6 separate regions of the Homo sapiens genome follow, and regions 2, 3, 4, 5 and 6 are each linked to region 1. The links are contacts of gene promoters, found by promoter capture Hi-C in blood cells and fetal thymus (Javierre and others, 2016). All regions are on one chromosome and are shown on one strand. The core of a region is centred on a gene start or on the middle of the fragment in contact, and the rest is flanking DNA. Distances in the headings are between cores, read along the strand shown. Region 1 holds the start of TTL (tubulin tyrosine ligase). Region 2 overlaps TMEM87B (transmembrane protein 87B). Region 3 overlaps TMEM87B (transmembrane protein 87B). Region 4 has its middle 17 kb from the start of FBLN7. Region 5 holds the start of FBLN7 (fibulin 7). Region 6 has its middle 54 kb from the start of ZC3H8.

The links. Contacts are between HindIII fragments. The CHiCAGO score rates a contact against its expected background, and 5 or more counts as called.
Region 2: a contact is called between a fragment that was not itself captured here and the fragment with the promoter of TTL in region 1, in 7 of 17 cell types (endothelial precursors, erythroblasts, M1 macrophages and 4 more). The highest score is 7.8, in endothelial precursors.
Region 3: a contact is called between a fragment that was not itself captured here and the fragment with the promoter of TTL in region 1, in 7 of 17 cell types (megakaryocytes, endothelial precursors, M0 macrophages and 4 more). The highest score is 7.3, in megakaryocytes.
Region 4: a fragment that was not itself captured here is called in contact with the fragment with the promoter of TTL in region 1 in 6 of 17 cell types (erythroblasts, naive CD4 T cells, total B cells and 3 more); the score reaches 9.3 in erythroblasts.
Region 5: a contact is called between the fragment with the promoter of FBLN7 here and the fragment with the promoter of TTL in region 1, in 8 of 17 cell types (endothelial precursors, activated CD4 T cells, erythroblasts and 5 more). The highest score is 7.3, in endothelial precursors.
Region 6: a fragment that was not itself captured here is called in contact with the fragment with the promoter of TTL in region 1 in 1 of 17 cell types (endothelial precursors); the score reaches 6.5 in endothelial precursors.

Annotation. Positions count from the first base shown.
Region 1 is chr2:112,480,377-112,484,054 of GRCh38, reverse strand. TTL (tubulin tyrosine ligase) reads right to left here and starts at 1,899. Exons shown (of 7, transcript NM_153712.5): 1 at 1,554-1,899. The coding sequence starts at 1,710. RefSeq lists silencers at 1,129-1,228, 1,789-2,178 and an enhancer at 2,499-2,568. The HindIII fragment of the contact is 5,056 bases long and covers 11-3,678 here.
Region 2 is chr2:112,083,523-112,087,200 of GRCh38, reverse strand. TMEM87B (transmembrane protein 87B) reads right to left here. Exons shown (of 19, transcript NM_032824.3): 9 at 1,097-1,196. Among named protein-coding and RNA genes, the nearest start is that of TMEM87B, 30 kb to the right of the region's middle. The HindIII fragment of the contact is 2,093 bases long and covers 783-2,875 here.
Region 3 is chr2:112,100,651-112,104,328 of GRCh38, reverse strand. TMEM87B (transmembrane protein 87B) reads right to left here. Exons shown (of 19, transcript NM_032824.3): 15 at 3,634-3,678. Among named protein-coding and RNA genes, the nearest start is that of FBLN7, 36 kb to the left of the region's middle. The HindIII fragment of the contact is 2,744 bases long and covers 214-2,957 here.
Region 4 is chr2:112,120,032-112,123,709 of GRCh38, reverse strand. No RefSeq gene overlaps it. Among named protein-coding and RNA genes, the nearest start is that of FBLN7, 17 kb to the left of the region's middle. The HindIII fragment of the contact is 9,145 bases long and covers 1-3,678 here.
Region 5 is chr2:112,136,296-112,139,973 of GRCh38, reverse strand. FBLN7 (fibulin 7) reads right to left here and starts at 1,589. Exons shown (of 8, transcript NM_153214.3): 1 at 1,244-1,589. The coding sequence starts at 1,318. The HindIII fragment of the contact is 8,502 bases long and covers 1-1,910 here.
Region 6 is chr2:112,199,051-112,202,728 of GRCh38, reverse strand. It overlaps a transcript of FBLN7 not described here. Among named protein-coding and RNA genes, the nearest start is that of ZC3H8, 54 kb to the left of the region's middle. The HindIII fragment of the contact is 1,801 bases long and covers 662-2,462 here.

The DNA of each region.
Region 1 (3,678 bases), core at 650-3,149:
CACCTAAGCTTTCACAGCTAGGCACTGCCAAGAATATAGAGGGAAGTCAGGAAGTCTGGAAGGGGAAGTGGACAATGCAAGGAACAAATAATTGTTCTCAACTATAAGCAATTCTTCCTCTCCTTTCAGATCATGAATTCTCTTTGCTAGGGTCTTCCTGACACCGGTTAACCAAAGGGAGCCTCCAGGCACAGTCTCCATATTCTAAGATTTCTGGGTGTTCAAATGGGTCCTTCCATGGAGTCACCATTCTACATCATAAACTTGTATACCAATGAAAAGTTGTCCCAGGTACTATTCAAAAGAAGAAAATCCAGCAACTTTACACTGCAGCTCTTCATTCCTCCAACGATTTGAGTTTTACACAGCCCCCTCCCAAAGGCTCTGTCTATGGAAGCTCATAAATGACCAGTCAATTCCAAATGGCCCGTATTCAGTTTTTACCCATTTGAATTCTGACCACACCTATTTCTAAAAACTGTTTTCTCTCCTGGACATAGAACATTGCTCTCTCTGGGTTGCCCTCCAAGGTAGAGGTGACTCTTCCTCCGTATCGATTCTCCCCTTGTCTTTGGAATACAATTGGCCCCCACCTCTGGTGAATTCTGGCAAGGAACATGGCTCCCCGGAGAGAAGATGCAATTCCCAGATGACTGTGCAGAGAGGGAGGCCATGAGACTATGCTCAGGTCAATAGGATGTGAGTTGAACCGATCTGGGCAACTTCTGGATGACATCACTTACAAAGGAGCCGCTAGTCCCCTCCTATCTCCTGCGCTTTCCTACCCGTGGACATGTGGGTATGGTGGTGCCCAGCCAGCTTCAACCATGTGGATGAAGGTAATTCCCTCGGGGAGAGCAGGGAAGACAGGGAGGGCGAACGCAGCCTCGTGTAAGATCTTAATCCAATGCAGAACTGCGAAAACACATTATTTGGTGAAACTAAGGAAAGGTTTATAATCAGACATCCCTCCACACTTCCCTGGGCTAGGGTCTCTTCTGCAGCTCCTGCTTTTGGAATCCGGGGGTCTTTTCCAAATCCTCTGATCGCTCCTCCGCGCCTTCGGGGGGCAGAAGCCTCAGGGGTTTCAACACCTACGGCTCCCCCGCCCGCGCCCACGCCAAGCAGGGAGAAATCCTCAGTGCAGACGAGCTGCAAAAGATGACTCCAGCCGCCCGCTCTGCGGAGCCGCGCCCAGCGCGGCGGACCCGCCAAATCTGGGGGCTTCGGCCCGGGGGAGCCGCTAGACTCGCGCCTCAGGTCCCAGCCCCGGCGGCCAGCGTCTCCCGGGCTGCAGGGACCGGTCACCGTCGGGAGGTAGCTGCGGCCCCGAGTGGCCGCACCGCGACTCCGACTCTAAATCCAAGTTAGGAGACAAGAAAGCATTAAAAACGACAGGTTTCGATCTTTCCGAATCCGTTTCTGATGTGCCCGACAAGCGACAGAGGAGAAAATGTATGACCTTTAAAAACAAAAGCGCCGGTTCTAACGGGCCGCGGGAGGCGCGCAGGGCCGCTCCGAGGAGGGCAGACGGGAATCGGGGAGGGGCTCACCCAGTCTCCCGAAGGGCAGCCGATTCCTCTCTCCCAGCATCAGGTTGAATCTGGGGTTGTCTCGCCGCAGCCTCTTCCAGTGGCCGGTGGCGAGGAGCAGCCGGGAGACCTCGGCGTAGACGCTGCTGTTCTCATCGCGTACCACGAAGGTGTACATGGCGAAGCGCCGCGCGCCCGGGCCGCCGGGCAGCCGCCGCAGGGACCAGGCGGCCGAGAAGGCGGCTCAGCGCGGACCCCGCCCGGGCGCCCGCCGCGGCCCGGCCCCCGCCGCCCGCGCCGGCTACCGCGCCTCTCGGGTGCCGGCGGCGCCGCGCCCGGGCGCCCGCCGGGTGCCGGAGAGGAAAGCGCCGCTCGCACGCCCGCCCCCGCCGGCGCGGCCCCGCCTCTGTCCCGTGATTCCGCGCGGCCCGGCCCCGCCGCGCTCTGGAGGAGCCCGTGGGCGGCGGCGCCGCGCCCTTTCCGTACCCTCCCCCGGGGGCGGCGGCGGCGCAGGGTTGGAGACCCGCGGCGGTGGGCGCGGCTTTACCGCAGCGGGCGGACTGTGCGGTGGAACCGGAGCCCGGGCCTGGGGTGGTTCTTTCCGAGCCCCGGGTCGCAGCCGGGGGGCGGTGCCGGCGGAAGATCCCAGTTTGCAGGGCTCGATCTGGGTTTTTCTTCTATTGCCAAAGGACCTTTAATGGATAAAACCCAAAAGTTCTAAGGCCCGGTCCTGTGGCCTAATGAAGAAGCGCTTCCTCTTCCTCTTTGCTTAACGACTACGGAGACCCGGAGCGTCGGTTTTGTTTGTGTCGAGTGCTCCTTCCTTCGGCTGAGCCCAGGGTGGCGCACGGCCAAGGGGATGACCTTAGACTCTGCTGGTGGAAGCAGGTCCCAAACCGACCCCCTGGAGCCCTGGGCTCCGCTCTTTTCCTGCCTTTTACCGGCATTCAGCCACTTGCTTTCCCTTCTCCGGACCTCGATTTCCCCTTATGAGCGGCGGAGAGTGGCTCTTAAAAGTCCCTTCGGTTCTGATAGCCCACTCTGAAGACTGTGCTGCTGCATTTGAGATACAAAGAGAAGGCAATGATCATCAGAGCTCCCCCAAACTTCCTACAGTCCCTCATAAATTACCCACATCAGCCCTGCGCCTTGCATCTTTTACTCTCCTGTAGATAAAGAACACCCTGGGGCCTCTCCCCTTCCTGTCCCCCGATGCTCACGGTATCTACCCGAGCACATTGTAAAAGCGCCCTTCTCCTTCCCATCGTTGCCCAGATTCCACGGGGCCGCCAGGCGCTCACTCGCCTGTCTTGCGCACCGGCTCCACCTGCAGGCAACCGCTGGCTGTGGAGAGCCCGCTCAGAGCAGAAATGGGGCAGACTTAGAGGTGCTGGGTGCTTGCACTCCTTCCCAGCTGCTCTCCCTCCACGAGGGATAGAGTTGGTCGAGAATGCCCTGGCCCTCTCGCCCTCCGCACGTGCCCTGCGGGGAGGCGTGTGTCCTAGGCGTATTGCGGTGGTCCTCTGTAGGCCACGGCTGCGGTTGTCCACAGCTGCAACTTGCTCATCAGGGCATCTTCTGTTGGCTTCCTTCCTTTCCCTGACTACCGATGTTTCCTGGGATCACCTCCCAAAAAAACTACTGTACTCGTGCTCAAATTCTTGTTCCAGGGGGCACCGTTTGGGGGAACTCGAGCCAAGACGCTGTGTTTGCCGCTCTTCACGGCTGATCACCTTGAAAGTGACGTCCACTCCCACCATGCTGCATCAATTCCTCCTGCGACTCCTACTGACGACTCCTGTGCCACAGGTGGCTTCTCTCTGCCACTCCACAACCGTGGATCTCATTAGGAACACCAGTGACCTTTGAATTTCCAAATCCAGAAGCTACCTTTTTCCTTTTTCTCACTTTTTGTAGCGAGCACCATTTTTGTTTCTTTTAGCTGTAGGTTCTGTACGGTACTACTTATTCCCCACCCCACTTTTTTTTGAGACAGGGTCTCACCATATTGCCCAGGCTGGTCTCGAACTCCTCAACTCAAGCCATCCTCCCACCTCAGCCTCCCAAACTGTTGGGATTACAGGCGTGAGCCACCACACCCAGCTTATTCCCTTTTCTTTGTAAGGTAACTCATCTTTCCTCCTTG
Region 2 (3,678 bases), core at 580-3,079, 400 kb after region 1:
GGCTGGGGTTTTGTCAAGAAGGTTGACAAAGAGAAAGGCAGGGGTCTTTGGGTGTCAATGTCCTGCTGGACCAGGGAATCCAAGCAAAAGGAAGAAGGTAAGGATATAAGATGGGGAGGGACAACGGAAGGTGCCAGGGTCAAAAGGCTGGAGGCCAAAGTATAGTCGAAAAAGACTGACACCGACATGTTAAAGAAAGTAACAGGAAACAGAGGAGGTTGACAGTTGAAAAGTGGATTGCTTAAAATTGAGATTTTGAAGAGGGTGCAGTTATATATATAATAAAGTCTAGAAAATGATACTGGGAATCAGTAGCTGAAACATGGTGATGGGCAAGAGCAGGAGAGGTGGGGAGGTGAGGTCAGGTTACTTAAAGGGTCATGCACATGGCTCCTGAGACCCCATGGCCTTCTGACAGATGAAATGCTGAGGACGACACCTGTGAAGCCAGTGCCCACAGAGCTGAGGAATGAGGGAGGGTCTGGAAGCTCACAGTGACCACAACAAGATGCAGCAGGTGACCCAGCCTGAAGAGTGAGCTTCTGGGAATCAGGGTTTTAGGAAAGAAGCAGGAAGAAAGGTCTGAAAAAACACAACAAGGATAGAAATCAAGTTCTCCCATAGTTATGCCCAGTGATTCACAGGTGAGAGGAGGAAAAGACCCGCCGGAGAAGGTCCAGAAGCAGAGTCCTTGAGGGACAGACAGGTTTCAGTCAGAAGTTTTGCTGACTTGGTGTTTAATCCACTCTCTCTTCCAACACTCAGATAGGACCATAAAAGCTTAATGATACTGTCTAAATAACAGAAAAGGGTTTGAAAATGGTTTGAATTATTTTAGATTTTCCATTATCCTTAAAGTTGATTATTTATTCATCTAACTATATAAAGTTATTGAAATAAAAATTCAGGGTCTTTATTGGAAGATAACATAAAATAGCAAGTATGTGGAAATCTTTTAAAAATGTGTTCTTGTAGATTTTTCCCAAAGGGATTTGTACTACAATACTTAGAAGTTCCATTTTCACAAAGGTCATAATGTAGACGGACTGAATCACTGGGCTGGGACCCAGCATTTTTCCCACACGCCAGTACTTACTTCACAATGCCATAGCCCAGGCTCACAATGATCACGAGAAGGCGAGCCAACGTCCTCTTAATCGCAGAAATCAACTCCGCAAATATCAATAAGCCTTGGGCTGAGGAAGAAAAAAATAAAATAATTCACTTTGTCTACACCTGGAAGCCTGCCAACCAAGATTCTCAACAACATGTCCTGTGTATAACTACATTCGAACTTCAGACCAATCAGCCACATTTGATTTAAAAGTCACTGAATCCAACTGATGCTTGAAAACTTCAGTGAAGGATTCATACTCGCCTCAAGAATTCACTCCCTATCTATCTAATCTGCTCCACTGGGCACAGCTTTCTTCTATCAGCCCGAACACTGTCTCCCTGAGCTTCCCTCTGTTCTTGCTCTTTACAGAACTCTCTCTTCTTGTCCTGTAAATATTTAAAAACCACAACATCCTCTAGAGTTCTCTTTTCTCCAGGATCTCCTCATCATGTATTCATTTAAAATGTATCTGATATGCTCCTACTGTGTGGCTATAATAGTGAAAAAGACATCTTGATCCCTGCCTTCATGGAGCTTGTACTCTGGTTAGGCTAAGTAAATAGAACTCAGTGTGGTAAGAGCAAGAGGTAACACATCATCCCTCCAGACTTGGAAGAAGGCCAGTCTAATCTACACCTGGGGGAACTAGAATTGGGTCCTGAAAAACTCAGAAAAAGTGACATCTAAATCAGGACTTGAAGGCTAAGTAGGAGTTAAGTATTTGGGGGTGGGGGATGACAAAGCAAAGAACACGGCACGTGCAAAGGCACAGAGAAGAAAAGAGGAAAAGCAAACTATGCTGCAAGAAGTCAAAGTTCATTATGCCTGCAGCAGAGAGTGTAATGGTAGATGTCAAGAAAAGAGGCTGGTCATAAAGGCAGGGACCAATCATGCAGTTTGGAGCCCCTGTCATGGAGTCTGGACTCGATGTTAAGGGCAGTGGGAAGTCAATAACAATAAACAAAAGAACAAAGGAGGGATTGGTAAACTATGGCCCATGGGCCAAATCTGGCCCTACATCTGATCTGTTTTTGAACATAAAGTTTTATGGGAACACAGCAATGCTCATTTGTTTGCATGTTGTCTATGGCTGCTTTTATGCTTTGATGGCAAGGGTGAATAGTTACAACAGAGACCATATGGCCTGCAAAGCCAAAATATTTCCTCTATGGCCTTGACAGAAAAAATGTGCTGACTGCTGGAATAAAATGGATGGCTTTATTTTATCAAGATTGCTCTACCTACAATGGTTTGGAGAGGAACAAAACTGCAGGCAAGGAAAATGCTCAGGAGACTATTCCAGAAAACTAAGAGATGATGAGAGTACCGGCAGTGATCACAGAGAGAAGCAGAAAGATTCAGAAAGATATTCAGAAAATATGGTGGCAAAACCAGTTGTGAATCCATCTGATGTTTTCAGTTCACACTGTTTTCAGCTCCATCTTGCCTGCAAGAACTCACAAGAGACCTTGTCAAATGCCTCGAAGATAGATCTAGAACTACAGGCAGAGCAAGAAGCCAAGAAAGATGTGAAAGATGGTCCTGAGGTCTCCTGGCAGTATCATGCAGCGAGAGGAACACCTGGAAGGGCAGCAAGTGTGGGCTGGGGCGAGACCGCCACACAAAGGCAGAAAGGATGAGCTCCCTTTTTGCCATTCAGAGGTTGAGAAGATTGCAAGGCATTGAGAAGCTGTTTTGTAGGTGACTGGATATATATGTCTGTAGCTCAGGATAGAGAGTTCCACAGGAGAGAAAGCTTTAGGAGGAAAACAATGGATGAGCTCTCCGAAAGAGTGCAGAATGTAAAGAAGGGGTTTATCATCACAAATGTTGAGGGATGAGTGTGCTGTCAATCCCTCCATGGGCTGTCTATACTCCTCTTGAGGTAATGTGACTACAACGTTTCTGGTACAGTGTGGCCTGTACAGCAAGATTCTCAACTTTCCTTCCAGGCTCCTGCTGCAATCTGAGGTTGTGGGAGCTTGTGGGAGGCAACTACCCTATTATTGCCTATGTTGAGTTTGCTTTTCATCAGCTTCAATTTTTAAATTCTTTTTAAAACTTTTCCATTGGTATTTTTGCAATTTGTACTCCAAACCTAAGTTCAAGATCATCAGATTTCACCTTTCTATTCAGCATGTCAACTCTCTTGCCTCTCATCACATATCTTCAAGTGAAAAGGGTCTATCTAAAATGATTCTCTATGCCCCTAAGTATTTACGACCCTGGCCAGCCTCACATCATCCACAAAATTTAAGAGAATGCTGTCTACATAGTCACACAATAAATGTTAGTTGAACAAACCAACAGATTCACAAGAAGAATAAAACAGCAACAAGGCCTAAAATCTGAGAGAGACACCATTCAAAGCCTCCTAGCTCAATGGTTCTCAACCCTAGATGCATATTGGAATCACCTGGAAGCCTCTACACAGCCCCACTTCCTAGGTCTGCCCTAATCAGACTCTCTGGCACTGGTACCATTTTAAAGTTCTTCAAGTGATGCTGATGCAAAACCAGGGATGAGAACCATTGCTCCAGACCAGTGCTGTCCCACAGACC
Region 3 (3,678 bases), core at 336-2,835, 380 kb after region 1:
GTCAGATATATATGTACTGAGAATATTTTATCTCCCACTGTAGCTAGCCTTCTTATTTTCTTAAATTCTTCCTGATGAGCATAGATTTTAAATTTTGATAAAGTCTCATTTTTTAATTTAATGGTTACTGTTTTTCATGTCCTAAGAAATTACCCCATCCAACGTCATTAAAATATTTTCCTTTTTTCTTCTAGAAGAATAACAGTTGAAGCTTTTCCATTAGGTCTGTGATCCATCTTGAATTGATTGTGAGATGTGCAACAAAAGTCTAATGATTTTTTTTCCTACACATTTATCCAGTTGTTCCAGTACCATTTATTAAAAAGACTATCCTCTCTTCATGTAAGCCTTGGTGCCTTTGTCAAAAATCAACTGACCACACATGCATGGGTTTATTCCTGGACTCTATTTTACTACCTTGATGGATTTCTCTATCCTTATGCCAATACCACACTGTCTGGATTGCTGTAATCTGAAATAATTATGTCTTGAAATCAGTATAAATCCACTAATTTTATTTTATTGAGAGATAATTCGCATACCATATTGAAGTACAGTTAGATTTTGAGATATTCACAGAGATTTGAGATATTCACCACTCTCCAATTTTGGAAAATTTTCATCACCCCACAAAGAAACCCCAAACCCATTAGCAGTCAGTCCTTACTTTCCCCCTCCTCTAACCTGTGACAAGCACTGATCTACTTTCCGCCTCTACGGACTTGTCTGTTCTGGACCTTTCATATAAACAAAATTATACAGTATGTGGTCTTTTGTGATTGGCTTCTTTCACTTAACATAATGTTTTCAAGGTTCATCCATGTTGTAACTACAAGAATGTTAAGGATCTTCTACGTCTTTTGCTTTTCCATATACATTTTAGAATCAACTTAACCACTGTATTTTTTTTTAAGTCAGCTAGAATTATAATTGGGATTGCACTGAATCTATTTATCAGACTGGGAAACTGAGAGCTTAATACTGAGAGTTCCAATTCAGACACAGGTTCTATCTCTACATTTACTTATTCTAAAATTTATCTCTGCATTGTTTTATAGTCTTCATTGCAGAGGTTTTACGTATTTTTCATTAAACTTATTCCAAGTATTTTATTTTTGAAGGTATGGTAAATAACATTTTAAACTTCACCTTCAATTGTTTTCAGTTAATATGTAGAAAAACAACTGACTTCTGTACATTGGACATATACCCTATGACTGTCACAGTCACTTAGTTCTACCGTACTTTTTCTTTTCTTTAGACTCCTTGGGATTTTTCCATACATAACCATGTTGCCTGCGAATAAACACAGTTTTACTTCCTCCTTTCCACATGTTCTTTCTTTCACATTCTTTGGAGTTTTGTTTTGCTTCTCTGCACTAGGTAGGACCTCCCATACAATGCAGAATCAAAGTGGTATGTACATACCCTTGCACTTTATCCCTAATCTTGAGAAGAAAGTGTTCACTATTTCACCATTAAATAGAATTTTAACTGTGGAGTGTTTTCATACCATTTTAGAATTAGTTTGCTGAGGCTTTTGTTATTTGTACCCACTGAGATACTTTTGTCATTTTTTTCTTCTTTCTTCTTTTATTTGTACTATTTTATTTTTATTTTTATTTATTTATTTATGTTTTTGAGACAGAGTCTTGTTCTGTTGTCCAGGCTGGCGTGCAGTGGCTTGGCTCACTGCAAACTCTGCCTCCTGGGTTCATGCAATTCTCCCGTCTCTGCCTCCTAAGTAGCTGGGATTACAGGCACACACCACCACGCCCGGCTAATTTTTGTATTTTTAGTCAAGAGGGGGTTTTGCCATGTTGGCCAGGCTGGTCTCGAACTCCTGACCTCAGGTGATCTGCCTGCCTCAGTCTCCCAAACTGCTGGGATTACAGGCATGAGCCACCGCACCCAGCCTTATTTGTACTATTTTAATATGATGAATTATACTGAGTGATTTTCGGAATGTTAAAACAGCCTTGCAACCCTGGGATAAAGTCCACTTGATCATGATTGTCTTTCTATATTTTGCTAGATTTTATTTGCTAATATTTTTAAAGAATTTTTGTATGCCCACTCATTAATGATATATTGGTCTATAAGTGGTCTATAATTTTTGGTCTATAATTTTTTCTTGTAACGTCTGTTAGACTTTGGCATTTCAATTGTACTGGCCTTTTAAGTACTCCCACCTCCTTTACCTTCTAAAGATTTTGTGTAAAATTAGAATATTTCTTCCATTTCTTCCTTAAGTATTTGAAAGGACTCACTAGTGAATCATTTGGGCCTGGTACTTCATAGGAAGATTTTAAATTAAAAAAATTTTTTTTAAATTTCTAATAGATCAGAGCTATTCAGACTTAGTGGCACAGGGTTAGAATTAAAATTGGGTTGTTATATGTATTTTTCAATGAACTTGTATTTTTCAATGAACTTGTCTGCCTCATCCAGATTGCCCAATTTGTTACCATAAAATTGTTCATAATATTTCCTTATTTACCTTTTTTACCATAGTAATGTCCTCTCTATCATTTCCAACATTAGAAGTTTGTCTTACTGTACTACAGTTGACTTTTGAATAATATGGGTTTGAACTGCTCAGGTCCACCTACATGCAAGTTTTTTTCAATAAAAGTTACACCACATATGTCTGCCTTTGCTGCCTCCCCTTTCCTTCTACCTAATAACATTTTCTTTGCTCCACCTACTTTATTGTAAGAATACAGTATAAAATACATATAATACACAAAATATGTGATAACTATGTTAACAGTAAGGCTTCTGGTCAACAGTTGACTATCAGTAGTTAAGTTCTGGGAGAGTCAAAAGTTATAAGTAGATTTTCAACTGCTCAGGAGTTTGGTGCCCCTAACCCTACATTGTTCAAGGGTCCACTGTAGTTTTTTCTTTATTTCTGGTTTAGAGTAGCTAGAGGTTAAGCCACTTTTCACTAAGCTTTTCAAAGTAATTACTTTTAGATTTGATGATTTTTTTCTATTTGTTTTCCTGTTTTCTATTTCATCGATGTATTAGAGAACCAAAACAGAAGGTGAAAAAGAATGTTACTAAGAGAAGCAAAAGTAAGAGGACAAAAAAATGAAACAAAGATAAAATTACCCTCAACATCTGAGTTACTTATTGATGTTGCCTTAACAGATGCTTAATTAGATTACAATAAAATTAATAAAATGATAAAATGCTATGTAGAAAATAACAGAAAGAATGAAAATATCATTAAAACTTTAAGTAGAAATGCTTTCAGCATGATCAGAAATTACAGGTGTGCATACTTTAAAAAGAGCAAGAAGATGCAACTCAAAGAAACTTAGCAATCATCAAGATGAACATTATTTAGCAGCTAAGCACAATATACATCAAACCATTCTTATGAAAAACAGTGTAACTATTTCAACATTTTACGAAATGAGTAACAAGCTCAAACTACAATAGTCTTGAAAATTTCATCACTGACCTTTCTGTTACTGTCTACCAAAATAAGGTTTCTGAAGATAAAAGTTTTTAAAATATTTTATAGAAAAAAACAATATATGTGACCTTGCATCACGGGTAAAGGTACAATATTTCTGTTGCAATATGTACAATGGTCATTTAAAAAGAAAACATATTACTCACTTAAATTTTCAGAAGTTACCATGAATTCCTCAATTTCATCATCAG
Region 4 (3,678 bases), core at 803-3,302, 360 kb after region 1:
TAATGTTACAGAGGATTTTTACTAGGCAATGAGTCACTTCTCTCTTTCAAAACTCCATCTTTGGTTCTGGTTTTCCATCATTTGATTATGATGTTTCAGTACAGATCTCTTTGAGTTTATCTTATTTGGAGTTTGCTAATCTTTCTGCTTAGGTAGACTGTTTTTTGTCAAGTTTGAAAAGTTTTCAACCACTATTTATTCAAGTATTTTTCTTCCTCTCTCTTCTTCTTCTCGTACTCTCACCGTGTGTGTCTGTATGCTTGAGGTTGTTCCACAGGTCTCTGAGATTCTGTTAATTTTTCTTCATTCTATCTTCTTTTTGTTCCTCACACTGAATAATCTCAATTGACCTATATTCAGATTCACTGATTTTCTTCTACCTGCTCAGATCTGCTCTTGAGCACCCTCTAATAAATGTTTTGTCTCAGTTATTGTACTTTTCAATATAAGAATTTTCATTTGGTTCATTTTTATCATTGCTATCTCTATTGACATTATTTGGTCAAACATCATTCTCATACTTTTGCATTTATACTTTTTTAGCTCATTGAATACTTACAAAACAGCTTACAGTTTTTGTCTAGTAAGTCAAACATCTGGTCTTTCTCAGGAACATTTTGTTTTGATGCTCTTTTTTTTCTTGTGAGAGATACACTGTCATTTCTTTGCTTATGTCATAATTTTTTGGTAAATACTAGACATTTTAAATAATATAATGTGGTAACTCTGAAAACCAGTTCCTTCCCCTTCAATGGTTTGCTGTTGTTACTACTTGTTGTAGTAGTTGTTTAGTGAGTTCTCTAAACTAATTCCGTAAAGTCTGTATATTTTGTGATATGTGGTCACTGAAGTCTCTACTCAGTTATGTAATGGTTAGACAATTATTGGACAGAGACTTTCTTAACCTCTCGGAACCAGTAAATCTCCCAGTCTTTGCCGAGGTGCTTGTGTGTATGGTGGGGCACACCTTCAGCACTCATTCAGGCAGTTTACAACTAACTCTGCCTTAGCCTTCACTTCTTGTTTGTGGTCTTTGCTGAGCATGCAGAGCCCTATGCATGCATGTGACCTTTTAGATTCCTGTAAGTATGTTGAAGGTTTTTCAAAGGCCTTATGGTCATCTCATTCTTTAGACTTTCCTTTTAAGGTTTTTGGTCAGTCTGTTGTTTGCTTTGAATGTTATTTTTTGCTTTAGGCAGCTGTGACATTAAAAAACATGCCTGTGAATATTTTTAATAAGTATCCCCTGGAAAGAGGCATTTAGCACTGGGAAAGCTGTGACTCAGGTCAAATAAAGACAAGCCTTTCCAGCAGACTCCACTGAACCCCAAGAAAATCTCCACTTATCAAATGAAGAAACAGAGAACTGGAATTATGACCATGTAGAAACAAGAATTTGGAAGCTGAAAAGACAATGAAGTCATATGAAATGACGTAGCAAGTGGTCACCAAAGTATATAAAATGTATTTCAAGTTTTGATGCCCAGTCCAACCCTTCTGTGGCATCTCTTTCCCCCTGACAATAAGGACCAGAGGTGAGAAAAACAAACTAGGAGGCAGTCTTCAACCCTGGTCTGAGGGAACTGTAGCCAGTGACACTTTCCTGGTCCTCCATTTCCTCATTTGTAAGATGATCTTAGAGGCTCTTTCCAGCTTTAAAGTTTTAAAATATACCAAAATAACTGTTTTTCCAGGGCAGTGCTGTGTGAATTATTTTTAAGTTTTTTTCTTCATCCCCAAATTTGTTTAGTGGCATTTGGTAAGTAAATTTATAAAATCTGTAAAGGGAAGAATTAGAGAAAAGAAAAAAAGATTAGAACTCTTCAAGAGACATTACTTTGGCACCACCTGCTGGATAGCTTTCACATTTTTTCCTGTGCATAAACTTCCATTGCAGCTTCTTGTTTTTTCAAAATGATTTTAAGGAAATACTGTCAAAATTATTTACATCTGAAATCAGATATAAATCAGGTCAGCCTCTGACCAGATGTAAATATCAGGTCACCTCTGTTAATGTAGCTGTACATTCCCTATCACTTAAGGGGCATAAAACTTGCTCTGGGTAACTTCATCTTAATACAAGTGAATCAATCCTGGAATGTGTTTGAATTTCATATGCCATTTGTTTCAATTGAGTCTCAGTCACCCCTCAATCATTGCTGTACCTTTCACATTAACCTTAGCTGCCTCCTGAAGGCTATGCACCAGGCACTTTAGATACATTGTCTTACTTAACCTTCTCTAACAAGCAAACAGCACTTTGTTAACCGAAACTCCTCTCTCCTCAGGACTTCGAGGACAACCCTTCTAGGATGATTCCCACCAGTATTATACCAGCCTTGCCACCTGCCAGGATGGTAAACTATCAAATTATTTAACCTCTCTCTCAGTTTTCTAATCTATGAACCAAGGGAACTAATACTTCATTGGCTACTGTGAGAATACAGTGGTTACCAAAGCCTGGCACTCTGCAAGTGCTCCCAAGTCTGCCAAAATGGTCATCAGTCTTATGACAACAGCCCTTCCTTTCCCTCTGGGACTATCCATCTTGTCCCTCTCACTCCTCACATGTCAAAGGTGGGAGAATGTCCATGAAGAAAATTCTCCATGTCCCATCTACTTACAGCAAGATGGATTTTTTAAATTAATTAAGATTAAGCTGTGAACCAAGACACACTTTTCTAGATTTTCTGATACATAGTCTAAGGCACTATTATTATTATTATTATTATTATTATTATTATTATTATTGAGAGTCTCGCTCTGTCGCCCAGGCTGGAGTGCAGTGGCACAATCTCGGCTCACTGCAAGCTCCGCCTCCCAGATTCACGCCATTCTCCTGCCTTAGCCTCCCGAGTAGCTGGGACTACAGGTGCCTGCCACCATGCCCAGCTAATTTTTTTCTATCTTTAGTAGAGATGCGGTTTCACTGTGTTAGCCAGAATGGTATCGATCTCCTGACCTCGTGACCCACCCATCTCGGCCTCCCAAAGTGCTGGGATTACAGGTGTGAGCCACTGCGCCTGGCCAAGGCACTATTATTTTTACATATTTATGTTGAATATGTTTCTTAGAAAATTAGGGGTAAAAATTAGGCCCTAGGGTATGGTGGGTCCGCAAGATGGAAATAAACCCCGGGTGTCTGAGGGACATGTGGAGGAGGGTGGCCCTTCCCACCTCTATACCTACTGAAGAATTGTCACATGAGCAAGAAATAAACTTTTTGTCTTAAGTTTCTGAAAGGCTAAAATCAAGTTGTGACCACAGCCTGGCTGAGCCTCAACACTAACCATGTATGCCACCCCAGTGCTTTTCCACTCAATCCTTTCTCTACTTTTTTTTTTTTTTTTTTTTTGAGACGGAGTCTCGCTCTGTCGCCCAGGCTGGAGTGCAGTGGCCCAATCTCAGCTCACTGCAAGCTCTGCCTCCCGGGTTCACGCCATTCTCCTGCCTCAGCCTCCCGAGTAGCTGGGACTACAGGCGCCCGCCACCACGCCCGGCTAATTTTTTGTATTTTTTTTTTAGTAGAGACAGGGTTTCACCATGTTGGCCAGGATGGTCTCGATCTCCTGACCTTGTGATCCACCCACCTTGGCCTCCCAAAGTGCTGGGATTACAGGCGTGAGCCACTACGCCCGGCCTTTTTTTTTTTAAATTATCTTTATTTCAAAATAATAA
Region 5 (3,678 bases), core at 340-2,839, 340 kb after region 1:
GCGGGAGGGACACTGGCGTGGAGAGAGGCGGGAGGGACACTGGCATGGAGAGAGGCGCGCGGGACAGGGGAGAGAGGCGGGAGGGACACTGGCCTGGAGAGAGGCGGGAGGGACACTGGCGTGGAGAGAGGCGGGAGGGACACTGGCCTGGAGAGAGGCGGGAGGGACACTGGCCTGGAGAGAGGCGGGAGGGACACTGGCGTGGAGAGAGGCGGGAGGGACACTGACCTGGAGAGAGGCGGGAGGGACACTGGCGTGGAGAGAGGCGGGAGGGACGCTGGCCTGGAGAGAGGCGGGAGGGACGCTGACCTGGAGAGAGGCGGGAGGGACGCTGGCCTGGAGAGAGGCGGGAGGGACACTAGCCTGGAGAGAGGCGGGAGGGACACTGGCGTGGAGAGAGGCGGGAGGGACGCTGGCCTGGAGAGAGGCGGGAGGGACGCTGACCTGGAGAGAGGCGGGAGGGACGCTGGCCTGGAGAGAGGCGGGAGGGACACTAGCCTGGAGAGAGGCGGGAGGGACACTGACCTGGAGAGAGGCGTGAGGGACACTGGCCTGGAGAGAGGCGGGAGGGACACTGGCCTGGAGAGAGGCGGGAGGGACACTGACCTGGAGAGAGGCGGGAGGGACACTGGCGTGGAGAGAGGCGGGAGGGACGCTGGCCTGGAGAGAGGCGGGAGGGACGCTGACCTGGAGAGAGGCGGGAGGGACGCTGGCCTGGAGAGAGGCGGGAGGGACACTGACCTGGAGAGAGGCGTGAAGGACACTGGCCTGGAGAGAGGCGGGAGGGACACTGGCCTGGAGAGAGGCGGGAGGGACACTGGCGTGGAGAGAGGCGGGAGGGACACTGGCTGGCCTGGAGAGAGGCGGGAGGGACACTGGCCTGGAGAGAGGCGGGAGGGACGCTGACCTGGAGAGAGGCGGGAGGGACGCTGGCCTGGAGAGAGGCGGGAGGGACGCTGACCTGGAGAGAGGCGGGAGGGACGCTGGCCTGGAGAGAGGCGGGAGGGACGCTGGCCTGGAGAGAGGCGGGAGGGACACTGGCGTGGAGAGAGGCGCGCGGGACAGGGGACAGAGGCGGGAGGGACACTGACCTGGAGAGAGGCGGGAGGGACAGGGGAGAGAGGCGGGAGGGACAGGGGAGAGAGGCGGGAGGGACGCTGGCCTGGAGAGAGGCGGGAGGGACACTGGCCTGGAGAGAGGCGGGAGGGACACTGGCCTGGAGAGAGGCGGGAGGGACACTGACCTGGGAAGCCCGCGGCTCGGGGCAGGCGAGGATCAGGAGCAGAAGGAAGAGCGCGCGCGGAGAGCTGGGCACCATCTTGCCAGTCGGAATCCCGCTGCCTGGGAGGGGAAATAACTTTGCCTCCGCTGCCGAGTTTGTCCCAGCGATGCGGCAGCCGTCCCTGCAGGGTGCGGGGCGCCGCGCGGCCGGGGGGCGGCTGGGGCAGGGGGGGAGGCGGGAGGCCCCGAGCGCAGCGCGTCCCGCGGGGATCGGCGCCGCCCGGGCCTTGCGAGGGTCCAGGTGCGCCCGCAGCTGCCCGCACGAGACAGTCCGCGCGAGGCGGGGAGGCGCCGGCCCCTGGGCTAAGGACGAGGGAGGAGGGGCTGCCCGGCCGGGAATGCGCCCGGGAGCGCGCCCAACCCGCGACGCCGAGGACGAGCGCGGGCATCCTCGGGGCCTGGCAGGGATGGGCGGCCAGTGCCCCGCATATGTGCGGGTGACTGGAAGCCCACCCTGGGCGGGTTCACTCCCGACCGTCCTATTTCCCAACCAAGTAGACTGAGGCTCAGTCACCAAGGACAAGTGGCAGAACAGAAACCCAAACCCAGGTCTGTCCTACTTCAAAGCCCACGCGACACCCTCCTCCCGACATTCCTAGAAGGGGGCCAGGAAATGGGCTTCATAAGCTTGACGTGGGGTGGACTGAGCTCTCCATCCGAATAAACTAGTGTCCCTTTAAATAATGCAATGGGGCCGTGAGAACACGCACGCACAGTGAGTAGATACACACACAGTGATACAGTGAGGGGATCTACGTCCTTCTGATTCACTGTCCTCCTTGCTCAAGGGAAGGAGAAACTCAGTTTAAATCGGAGGTCAGGTTCTAGAACATTGCCTGCCTTGCTGAAGTCGAATCAGGAAGTGCCAGGCCGGCATGAGCAGTCTGAAGTCCCCTGCCATCAGGGCTGTGGTACAACCAGATGCCTCAGACCTGAGCTCCCGGAAGGCATGACTGACGTTCTTCCTGGAAGGTTTTCTGAAGGCAGTCACTGCAGATGTCCTGGGACACACAAGTCTGGTCAAGCCCCAGATCTCTTTTTCCTCTTCCACATTTCACTTTGTTGAGCCCACTCAGAGCTCAGGGAACGGGGAGCCCACAAGACTGTGACCACAGAGCAGGAGCTGTTTCCCAGCAGAGGCCAGAAAGGAAAGCTGGAGTCCTGGCTTAGTCCCTTCAAACTGCTATAGCAAAATACCATAAACTGAGTGGCTTATAAACAATAGAACGTGTTTCTCACAGTTCTGGAGACTGGGAGGTCCAAGATCAAGGTGTCAATAGATTAGGTGTTTGGCGAGGGCCAGAGTTCTGGTTCCCGTGTCCTCACAGGGGAAAGGCAGCTCTCTGGGGCCTCTTTTCTGAGGGCACTAATCCCAATTTTGAGGGCTCTGCACTCATGACCTAGTCACCTCCCAAAGGTCCCACCTCCTAATGCCATCATCTTGGGAATGAGGTTTCCAACATATAAATTTAGGGGAGACACCAACATTCAGAACCTAGCCAGTGCCCCAAAAAGCAGGGGACATGGTTTAGGCTGGCCTCCTGGGCATTGGTTGCCCAGGAAATCCTACAGTGCTGCTCCCCCAACCTTCCCATGCAAAGGAGGTGGAACGGGACCCATGTAAATCTTTTTTTTCTTTGAGACGGCGTCTTGCTCTGTTGCCTAGGCTGGAGTGCAGTGGCCTGATCTCAGCTCACTGCAGCCTTGCCTCCCTGGTTCAAGTAATTCTCCTGCCTCAGCCTCCCAAGCAGCTGGGGCTACAGGCATGCACCACCACGCCTAGCTAATTTTTGTATTTTTAGTAGAGACAGGTTTTCACCATGTTGGCCAGGCTTGTCTTGAACTCCTGACCTCAAATGACCCACCCGCCTCAGCCTCCCAAAGTGCTGGGATTATAGGTGTGAGCCACTGCAGCCTGCAAGGGATCCATGTAATTTTATTTTGCATTCCTGGTTGAACATCCTGAAGAGAGACATGGTCATACCCCTGCTTCTCCCTATCCAGGTGGAGAGGACGGGACAGCATGGCCCGATCCAGGGCAGCCTGTGGAGATGGTGGTTTTCTGCCTCGATCTCTCATGTGTTTGCTGTCTGTACCAAAAGCCAGTGCCCTGCTCCCTCTCTGTCTCTCTGTCCTCTGCCCTATCCTTGAAAAGCTTCCTCCTGGTCAGTGTGGCTGCATTTATTAATATTTTGTGTCCTATCCCACCTTGTGTTTACATGGCGACCTTCTCTGGAAGGCCAGCTGTTCTGGCTCTCAGCCTTGTTCTGGCTATGCGCTGGTAACCAGACATCGGGCAGATGTAAGCAAGCCTTCTTTTCTCTTCTCCTGCCCTTTCTGTGGAGTCATAAAGCTGGAAGAGATTCTTGATTTCACAGATGAAGAAGCTGAATCGGG
Region 6 (3,678 bases), core at 313-2,812, 280 kb after region 1:
GAGAGGAGAATGACATTAGAGAAGTTAAAATGCCACAGGCATTTCACCAAGATTCAGCTGTTTTGCTTGAATAAATTCTCTTCAAATTGTTGCTAGCCTTCAGTTAATTTCCAGATTCTGAAAAAGTTGATTTTTGACTGTTTTGGCAGTGTTTTTATGTCTTTCATAGAGGAGTGGATTTTTGAAGATTTTTACTCTGCTGTTCCAGAGGTAGAAACCTTAACTCACTTTTAAGTGTGGTTTGACATCACAATACCTTTTAAAAAAACCCTGCACTTAAAAATATATATATTTCTAAATATATTTCATATCTATATATGTAATATATAAATAGAAGTGTATATATAAATAGAACTATATACGTATTTATGACTGGTATGAAAATTGAACATGTCGTCTTCTAGTACTTTTATTTCAAAATCACCTTTCCTTGCCTGGCATGTCCAGAGACTCATCTTCCTGGGGAACGCAATTGCACTCAGAGGAATGAGACAGTAAACAATTAACAGATAAAGTGCACATGACTGTTAGCAGGAAGCTCCTAGTTCATAAGAATTTGGGACCTTTACTCCATGCTCCAAATTTTTAAACTACCTTTTTAAGAGATTCCACAGAAGTAGTCTTATTTACCATTCCCATAAGTCTTAAATATATACAAGCTTTGTATCCCAGCTGTATCCTACATAAAAATACTCCAAATTTATTTGCCTGGATGTGTTGCTTGGCAGGTATATTTGTTACATAATAATATAAACTAGACTTTAATCTTGGACTTCCTGAATGAATTTGTGATTCAGCCTCATATCTGCTGACACACCAGCTCTTTTCAGCCTTCCATATGCCCACAGACTGTAAGCCAATTTAAACTTCCTCATGTAGCTGAACTCAGTTAGGTAAACCTGGAATCAACAGAAATGCTCCTTATTTCAGCCAAATGCACATAAAACAGTCATTTCAGTCCATGAAGGAGGAAAGCCTGGTTGCTGTGAATTCCTTATTATCTCAGAGACTGAATGCCTGTCCTTGTGTAGCTGTGAAGGATTCTATGTTCTCCCTAAGTTGGGGAGATGATGTGAGTGGCCCCTCAGGAAACAGAAACCTGCCCAACCTCCCCTGGCTCCTGCCACTCTGGACTGCCTGCAGTTCTGGAGGGCTGTGTTCTTTGGGATGTGTCCTACACCTACATCTGAACCAGGGGAGGAAAAAAAAAGAAGGGAAAAATGCCCTTGACTTTTCAAATAAGATGTGCAGGCCTTCTGCCAAGGAGCTGGAACGGCAAGGCAGGGAACAGGGTACCCTGGAACAAATGCGAGACCTGAGAGATCTTCACCTGGGAAGACACTGCTGGGGCCCACGGCCTTTGTTCTGTTAAATCTTGGCAAGGACCTGTGACAAGGCTGTGGTGTGGGAGCTGCACGATGGTCCGTGAAACAGGCCTTCCGGGCCCACCCATGAATGAGCAAGTGTCTGTTGTTCAGAACTCTCCAGGTCAAATCACAGGATTTGTAAAGAGATTCAGGACAGCAGTCACTGGGCCCTGCCTCCTGCCTCAGAGGCCTCACTCACATTTCCTCTGTTGTCAGAGGCAGCCTTAGTGAACCAGGCAAGGGTACATCTCGCTTTCCACCCTCCTTTGATCTCAGCAACCCTCACACTCCTTGTCTCAAATTGTCCTCCCTGACATTCTGGAAGCTGTGGAAGGGCATTTAGTGTACCTGCCCCATCCAAAGCTGTATTCTCTGCAAGGATCAAGCACATAAAAGGCACTTGCTCAATATTCATCATTGACATTTAAACATTTAAATGGGTGCTGCTTTTTTCCATCCAACAATATGAAAAATGGTGACCTTTAAGTGAAAGAGAATAAATAGGATTTTAAAAAACATTTAGGCTGGGTGTGGTGGCTCACACCTGTAACGCCTGTAATCCCAGTACTTTGGGAGGCTGAAGCAGGTGGATCACCTGAGCTCAGGAGTTCGAGACCAGCCTGGCCAACATGACGAAACCCCACCTCTACTAAAAATGCAAAAATTAGCCGGGTGGTGGTGCACCTGTAATCCCAGCCACTTGTGAGGCTGAGGCAGGAGAATAGCTTGAATCTGGGAGGCAGAGGTGGCAGTGAGCCGAGATTGTGCGACTGCACTCCAGACTGGGGGACAGAGCGAGACTATGTCTAAAAACAAAATAAAACAAAAAACAAACAAAAAAAACCATTTACGCCTTATCCATGAAACAACATAGATGGAGGTGATGTGTCCTTCTGCTCAGGTAATTCGAGAATTCCCCAGACAAAGGCAGAAATGAAGGAGAATGGCCAAGTATGTAGCTAGTGATTCCCTATGCATAAGCCAGCTGCATACATGCCACCCCTTATGTGACATTCCCACGAACATCTGAGGTGTCCCCCATGGCTCTGCACAGTTCCTCCTGGGCAAGCCATACTCCTTTGTTATTTCCAAGCTTGAGAATCTTAATTAGTACTAGCCACCAATTACCTAATACACACTTCACAGCTGATCACCACACTCCAGTGGATCAGGGATTGCAGTTGAGAGCACTGGTTGCTTGAGTTGGGAGTTGATGTCTCTCAGTCAAAGACCACCAGGAACCCACATATAGTCAACAAAGTCAGGTTTACTATTTGCTGCAGCAAAAGAGGTTGCATATGGGGGGTGTCTTTGTCTGTTTTCTGTTGCTATAACAGAATACCACAGACTGGGTAACTTATAAAGAAAATGTTTAGCTCATGGTTCTGGAGGCTGGGAAGTTCAAGAGCATGGAACTGGCATCTTGTGAGGCCTTCTTGCTGCATCATACCACGGTGAAGGGCATTACATGGTGAGAGGGCAACAGCAGGAGAGCCAGAGAGAGCTCGCTTCTATAATAAAGCCCTTCCCTCAATAACGAACCCACTCCTGTGATAGTGACATTAATCCATTTATGACCACACAGGCCTCATTAACCCATTAATCCATTCATGAGGGCAGAGCTAACACTAATTCATTCATGAGGGCAGAGGGATTAATTTTCCAACACATGAACATTTGGGGGCACATTCAAACCATAGCAGAGAGGAACTGAGGAACATCTTAACAGGAGGGAATTGGGGACAGACAGGGCATTTGAGACCAGAGAAAGTCATAGGATGATCCTGGAAGGGATGGGTGAGATTTTGTAAACTAGAGAGTTTCTGGAAGAGTCAGTACTCTTGTCTGGCTGTGTGAGTGAGTGGGTGTTAGGAGAGTTTATGCTTAGATGATTTGTGACATTCATGTTCTGAATGGGTGCCATTTATGGGTTAGCTCTAGAGCAGCAATGTTGAAAAGTTGTGGCTTGTTTCAACTCTCAGTTCTCCCTGACAGCCTTGCTGCCAATAGAGCAATTTTTCACTCCGTCACTGGAAAAGTGACGATGAGAGAAATGAGAGAAATGGACACCAGGAAATGACTCTGCCCACCGTACAACTGTCTGTCACCATGCAAAGAGGGAGAGTTGCATGCAGGGATGCTAAAGGAGAAAAGACACCCTGGGCAATTTCTCAGGGGGACCGCCTTGACCTGGGAGGCATTTCTATGGAATTCCTGTCCATTTGTCTTTTGACTCACTTTTGATCTTGATTATAATTTTTTCCCTTCTGTTTGTCCAAGAGGAAAAGGAAATGTGGGTCATGCATCCTGG